Linked DNA regions of Homo sapiens: region 1 is linked to region 2. The links are contacts of gene promoters, found by promoter capture Hi-C in blood cells and fetal thymus (Javierre and others, 2016). All regions are on one chromosome and are shown on one strand. Each heading gives the region's core, a stretch centred on a gene start or on the middle of the fragment in contact. The rest is flanking DNA. Distances are from core to core; before and after follow the strand shown.

Region 1 (3,744 bases), core at 1,149-3,648, 1.5 Mb before region 2:
GAATCAACTTAATTCTTCTTAGACAAATGCTTTTTGCCACAAATATTCATTATACATCCATTTACATATTATGTTCTTAGAAAATAAGAGAAAAAAATCAGAAAAGGAGGCTTCCACATAATAATAGGAATTATTTTTGAAAGAAAATCTGACGTGGGAATCCTAATCTAATTACTGTATCAAAGTCAACCAATTCTTGGTTGAAAGTAAACTACAGTATCATTTCATAAGAGTGTTTACTGATGAAATTAGCCAGGATAAATTGTAATGTTAACAGCCATAATAAATAAATGTCATAAAATACTAATTACTTTTAGTCAACAAAATAAGGTTATTTAACAACTGTCTTAGTCCATTTATTTTTCTATAAAGGAATACCTGAGGCTGGGTAATTTATGAAGAAAAGAGGTTTACTTGGCTCACAGTTCTGTAGGCTGTACAAGAAGCATGGTACCAGCAGCTATTTCTGGTGAGGGCCTCAGGCTGTTTCCACTTGTGGGTGAAGGTGAAGGAGAACCAGCATGTGCAGAGATCACATGGTAAGCGAGGAAGCAAGACAAAGCAGCAAGAAAATCGATAGGAGGGAGGTGCCAGGCTCTTAACAACCAGCTCTGACAGCAACTAATAGAAAACTCACTCATTATCACTAGGAGGGCATCAAGCCCTGTGTCAGGGATCCACCCCCATGTCTGAAAACATCTCCCATTAAGCCCCACCTCCAACACTGGGGATCAAATTTCAACGTGAGATTTGGAGGGATCCAACAAACCAAATGATAGCAATAATGCTCCCAAAATACAGCAGGTATATGAAATATAGCATTACTAATGAAGTGTCCTTTACATCTTCTCTGCCTGCTTCATTAGTGAATTTATTACAATAAAGTTTAAAATAAGGCAAAGAACATTCACCTTTCGGGCCAGGCACAGTGGCTCACGCCTGTAATCCCAGCACTTTGGGAAGCCGAGGCAGGCGGATCACGAGGTCAGGAGATCGAGATCATCCTGGCTAACACGGTGAAACCCCGTCTCTACTAAAAATACAAAAAATTAGGCCAGGCGCGGTGGCTCACACCTGTAATCCCAGCACTTTGAGAGGCCAAGGCGGGTGGATCACCTGAGGTCAGGAATTCGAGACCAGCCTGACCAACATGGAGAAAACTGATCTCTACTAAGGAAAATACAAAATTTTAGCCAGGCATGGTGGCACATGCCTGTAATCCCAGCTACTCAGGAAGGCTGAGGCAGAAGACTCACTTGAACCTGGGAGCAGAGGTTGTGATGAGCTGAGATCGCACCATTGCACCCCAGCCTGGGCAACAAGAGCAAAACCCCGTCTCAAATAAATAAATAAATAAATAAAACAAAAAAATTAGCCAGGTGTGGTGGCACACGCCTGTAGTCCCAGCTACTCAGGAGGTTGAGGCAGGAGAATCGCTTGAACCCGGGAGGCAGAGATTGCAGTGAGCTGAAATCTGGCCACTGCACTCCAGCCTGGGCGACAGAGCAAGCCTCCATCTCAAAAAAAAAAAAAAAAAAAAAGAGAAAAAACAACAAAAAAACAAAACCATGCACCTTTCCCTGATTTAAATGATTCATCAGTAATTATCCAAATACATGGTACTAGCCTATTAGGGAAATACCATGGTTTTAAGACAGTTGTTCTCAATCTTTTTTTTCTTCTTTTCACGAAGGCCCATTCAGGCTAGAGCAGAGAGGGGGAAGCTTACATCCAGTAAACAAAATAGCAGTGATTTAAATAAAACTGAGACCAGAAAACCGACTGCTTTCTACATTTTAGGAACTGATTATCATAAACATAAACTTATCTAACAATATCTGTATTTCTATTTGTAGCAAGCACAAAAGTTACAGTGTGCAGCACACTTTAATCACTGCGTGATTTAATTACTGTGTCAATAAAGGCAGTGGCACAGTCAGAATTTGACAGAATTGAGAAAAGTCCTGCTGAAAAGATGAGACAAGTTCTGAGATGATCATTTTTTATAATGTAAGCACTGTGTACATTTATAAATGGCACGGTAGGGATGGGAGTGGGCTGGGGGTAGAGAATTCCGTAAAACAAGGGAACTTGAGGAAATGCAAAAGACTGAAAAAAACCTGGCATCTTCCAAAGGGTAAAATTAGTATGATTGTTTAAACTATTTTGTCCTTAATTTTAGTCATTTCTAATTTAACAGCTAAAGAACAATTACTGTATAATAACTGAAATATTTAGTATACTTGGTATTACAGCACCCTCTATCACATGATCATATACAGAATACATTTCTATGAACTGGTTGCTTTAATCTGTGAACATTTATGTAGCTCTCTACTGGTTCTAGGGTTTAGTTTACTACTTCCCATCCACGGAGTCAAAAGGACTACTAACTTGTGCAGGCTTAGTATCACCAGTATATTTTAGTACCGTCTGTCCTGCAACAGCAAAAAGCATTATTGACAAAGCAATCCTGAACTCTAAATTATTCCAGGTGTGGTCCTAGTACCAACAGCATCAGAATCACCTGAGATTTTACTAGAGCTACACTAATCCAGCTGTATCCTCAGACCTTCCCTCCCAGTTATAACCTCTGGTGTTGAGGCCCAGCAATCTGTTTTAACAAGCCTTCTAGAGAATCTGGATGCATGCTCCAGTTTGAGAAGCATTACTATAGGAGAAATACAATCAAAGAGTCAAGTTAACATGTGCTATCTAAACTCTAAAGGAAATTTGTTTCATTATATATTTTGATATCCACAGCACCATTCCAATAAAACATTTAGAACAACTCTGTTAGTACTCCAAGATTACAGGAAAAAAAGAACATTATTAAAGGAAAATGTGTTGATTTTACTAACTTTGGGGAAATTACTTTTCCTTTCTCTGATTATCTAAAAGAAACGTGACATGCAAACGAATCTACATTGAGCATTTCTGAGGCTACCTTTCTGAAACTTCCATGGCCTATTTTAAAGCAAATTACTACATTCTGCTTCTCGATGGGTTCCTAACATACACAGCAGGCTTTTACAACAGCGCTTTAATAGGCCAAAGGAAACAAAAGCTTTTACAGCAGAGGCCAATGTAAGCCACAAAGCTCGTGTCATCTTCCTACCAGGCAATTAATACAGGGTCCCAGTCCTCAAAGATTAAAGAACTGATACGGGGAAGACTGAGAATGACCCAGCAACAACGCATAAGGAAGCAAAAAATAAAAGGACGCCGTTTCTTCTGGACTTAAAACTAGAGAAAGAACAGTTTCCGCTCCATTTTGGGTTTGTAAAGCTCCTCCTACAGGCAGCTTCCGCTTCAGAGTCGCCACAAAGTCCCTCCCGCGCGGGAACTCGGCGGGGCGGAGACTCGGGTCCCTCCCCGTCCAGGGCGGGAGAAAGGAAAGCAGGGGCCACGGTTTCTCTGGAAGGTTCCGAGAGAAGGGCGCGTGCCACCTCCGCGGGTGGCGGGAGACTCGGCACCAGATGGCGCTGCCGCACCGAGAGCCAGAGCCTGGGCCGCTGGGGAGACGGGAAGAGGCGTCACCGGATCCCTTCCTTTGCGCTCGTTGCCGGAAATGTGCGCTGCAACCAGCCTCTGGTCCCGGATATTAAGACTTCTGGAGGGTTCCCGCGTGAGGGCGGGGCCAGAACCGGAACCGAACGGCGACCGACGAGCCCCGGAGCGGAAACCCGGGGCGGCGCCAGCGGGCCCTGGTTGCTGGTGCGCGCGCCTCGTCTTGGTGGGAGG
Region 2 (3,476 bases), core at 272-2,771:
TTGGGCAACAGTATTACTCCCAAATGGCTTCCCACTTGTAGAAAAACAGCTTCAGACAAGCCCCATAGTGTATACAGTGGTGCAAAATGACCTGGAAAAAATGGTTTCTATGGATATCATTTAGAGATGCACATCCCTGAATACCTTAAGGCTGAAGGTACTTTAGCTCTTTTCCTCAAAGCAATTGCAGCACAGGTTCTCCTGCCCAGGTTTTGTTTATATAAGAACAATCTTGGCCACAGGTCATTTGTGTAGGAGACAATTAATCACTAGCTCTTTGAGCACAGGTAGGTTAATCAGTATGCACATAATACAATATTAAAATTTTCACGGGGAAAAAATTTTTTTATTTAAAACAATAAAGCATCAGTAATACCTGCTGATCTTTTATCCAAAGCAAGTACAAAGGCTGTTAGTGAAATAGAGAAGACTTTCTTTTTAAACAGTTCGGAAAATACAAGGCATCATTGATCACCTGAAGGCCTCATTTTAATTTGATTCCAGATCCACGGCAGCTTAGAGGTTGTCTTTTTGAAATAGCGTATTGCTAAAATCCTTATGTAGGTCAGAAATGGAACTTCAGGAGCCATCATATTCTGCTATCCTAATAAATAATTAGGGTCAGAACCTCACTTGTTTATGTTTCAAAAAAGCACAATATTTGGACTATAGCAAACATCAGGATTTTTAAAAATTCAAATATTAAATGGCATTCAGAACATCATCCACATGGAAGAGGGAGAGATGAAATAAATCTGCAGATGCCTCTATATACAAAAAGGATGTCCTAGGTTTTGGACTATTAAATACTTTTCTTTCTTCAGACAATACCCTAAAAAAACAATTACAAAGTACTCTGAAACCCTGCCACACCCCTTTGATTAAATCACACTTCACAAAATATTTAGAGAAAGCCTGAACAAATCAAATAAACATCAAGGCAGGAAATGCAGCCAGGAATGCCTGATCCTGAGCTCCCCCAGAGTCTGAAGGGCTGCCTCACTTGAAAATTTAATCAAACACAATCTACTGTAATTCCATTGCAGCCTTTGCACTTAAGGAAAGCTAGTTCAGTCTCTGACATTTTGATTTTCACAGCAGATGGGAGCAAAAAAAGAAAGAAAGAAAGAAAGAAAAAGAAAGAAAGAAAGAAAGAAAGAGAAAAGAAAAGAAAAGAAAAAAAGAAAAACTTCCGCGGCTCACAAACATATGTGTCCAGTTGAGATTTTCTGTCTCCAGCCTTATGCAACATCCAGCAAACAAACAAACAAAAAGGTTATTTTCTATTACTCACTATTACTCCAGGATTTCAGTAAATATTTGATACTGATCTCAAAGAAGCCCGAATCCTGCTGGCTGGCCATGTCTGCGGCATACAAAGAGGCTGGGAGGACGGGCAGCGGCCGGGAGCAGGTACCGGGCGTGATGCGCCTGTCACAGGTTGTGATGTCAGCGCGGGGTCAGGCGCCCAGAGGCAGCTCTGCGGATCCACCTCCGGCTCCGGCCGGGAGTGCTCATCTAAAGGACACGGCGGAGCAGAGAGAGATGCTCGGCCGCTCCTCCTCCTCCGGGTCCAGGACTTGCTTCTTATTTGCTGGACGCTGATCTCCCTGCAGCCCTCGGAGGCGGCGGCCGCGCTGCTTTCATTTCGGGGCTGTCATCACCAGAAACGCCGGCTGCCGGCCGCCCACCAGCTCGGCTCCAGCCAGGTACGCAACCGAGGAAGACCCCACCTGAACTGGGATCGGCTTTCTTCTGGGAGGGAGGGTTTCTAGGCCGGCCTCCCTGACGCGGTGCAGGCAGCCTCCGGCCCACACGGCCGCCGCGGGGCTAAGGGATGGGCCGGGAGCGCCGCCCCCTGCCCCTGCCCACTGTCTCAACCTGAGCCGCGGCTCAGTCTCCGCCTAGGCTGCGGGAGGAATTTCCCAGCTTCTGCGGATCCTCTCTCTTCAGCAAGGCTTCCCGTGAGCGGCCCGGGTGTGCTCTGGCTGCTGCTTCCCCTTGTGTCTGTCCCTGAAATAAACACAACTGCAGCACGCTGCGGTAAGCAAAGCTGCAGCCTTGCATCTGGTTGCAGCGACGTTTTGAAAAACCCCATCCGTCAGCCTCGTTGCAGTAAAGAGACTCAACAAGAGGACGCTTGTCTGGGCTTTTTCTTCCCTGCCTTCCACACGCATGGTGGTATCTGCATTTTTACTTTTCCCTCCCAGAAATGCAGTCTTTTCAAGGGGCATCGGAGCCCGAACGTGTGCACTCTAAGGGGACAGTACACACTGCTTAGTTGGCTTGTTTTTGTAATGTCACACACTCCACAATGGATCTTATTCTCAAACCTCTCATTTCTAAGACTCACTAAGCCCAGTGAAGCTTATTTTATTTGTATGAAAAGGATAAGAAGCAAAAGCATTAGATTCCTTGCTCTACAATGGCTCTTGATTTCATGAATTCTTGATATCAGGTGTCCTGATTTTGGTTAGCTTTGTTTCACATTATCATTTAGCTTGACCAGGGGATTAAATAAGAGTATTATATTTTAATAATGACAGGTTATGTTGGAAGAGGTGGGATTTGGCCAACTATCTCATAAACCACAGGATCCTTCCCAAGTCCCAGTACATTCATGATTAATGTTGTCTAAAAAACAGAAAAAAGTAATAAACCATGTTAATAAGTATTTAACATAGCAAATGTTGGGCTAACTCCCCAAATCAACACACAAACAGGACTTCCTAGATTAACAGTTCATTTTAAAAATGGAAGGGAAAGACTACAATGTACTTTTATTGTTAGGACAAAGAATTTTTAAAATTCAACACTAAATAAAACTTCTAGAACTATGTTCTGAAAGGCCCTAAGATACTTCATCAATACAATTAGTTTTTCAAACTCATTACACTTACCCAAATGGCAAGCACTCAATCACTCAGATTTCCAACTCCACTTATACACTTTATTCTGATGAAATCTCTCACCAGATTGACTTCTTTTTAATTCATGTGCATACTAGAGTTGCTGAACTGATTTTATCACTTGTACTTTGAATGTATGGATTCTAGGTAAAATAAGACCCAAAGGTTTTACCTTGAAACAATTATTATATCTGAAAATAAATTTCATACCTACGCCCATCTGATGCTTGCCAAGACTCAGATGGCAGTGAATGAACAGGTAGGCTGCACAGTGCCCTGCGATTAACGATGGCATGGGCTCTCAAGGCAGGGCCCCATGTTCGCTCCTGGCACCAGCCCTTACTAGCTTTGAGCCCCAAAGTAAGCTATTAACTTTGCTAAGCCTTCGTTTCCTCATCTGTAAAATGGGGTTGTACCTTCTTCCTATAGTTGTTGGAAACAATAAATAACACTATGTATGAAAGGGGCTCAGCATAGTATCTTGCCCATAGTTAACACTTCATTAAATTTTAGCTACATTGATTTTTTTTTTTTTTTTTTTTTTGAGACAATCTCACTCTGTCGCCT

Evidence for each region. The method cuts DNA at HindIII sites, captures the fragments that hold promoters and counts their contacts. A CHiCAGO score of 5 or more calls a contact.
Region 1: a fragment that was not itself captured here is called in contact with the fragment with the promoter of FRY-AS1 in region 2 in 1 of 17 cell types (fetal thymus); the score reaches 10.1 in fetal thymus.

The regions. Positions count from the first base shown.
Region 1 is chr13:33,542,568-33,546,311 of GRCh38, reverse strand. It overlaps a transcript of STARD13 not described here. Among named protein-coding and RNA genes, the nearest start is that of LINC02344, 210 kb to the right of the region's middle. RefSeq lists enhancers at 3,196-3,305, 3,406-3,505. The HindIII fragment of the contact is 1,343 bases long and covers 1,727-3,069 here.
Region 2 is chr13:32,029,684-32,033,159 of GRCh38, reverse strand. FRY-AS1 (FRY antisense RNA 1) reads left to right here and starts at 1,521. Exons shown (of 4, transcript NR_103839.1): 1 at 1,521-1,709. FRY (FRY microtubule binding protein) reads right to left here and starts at 1,386. Exons shown (of 61, transcript NM_023037.3): 1 at 1,295-1,386. The coding sequence starts at 1,364. The HindIII fragment of the contact is 3,062 bases long and covers 1-2,369 here.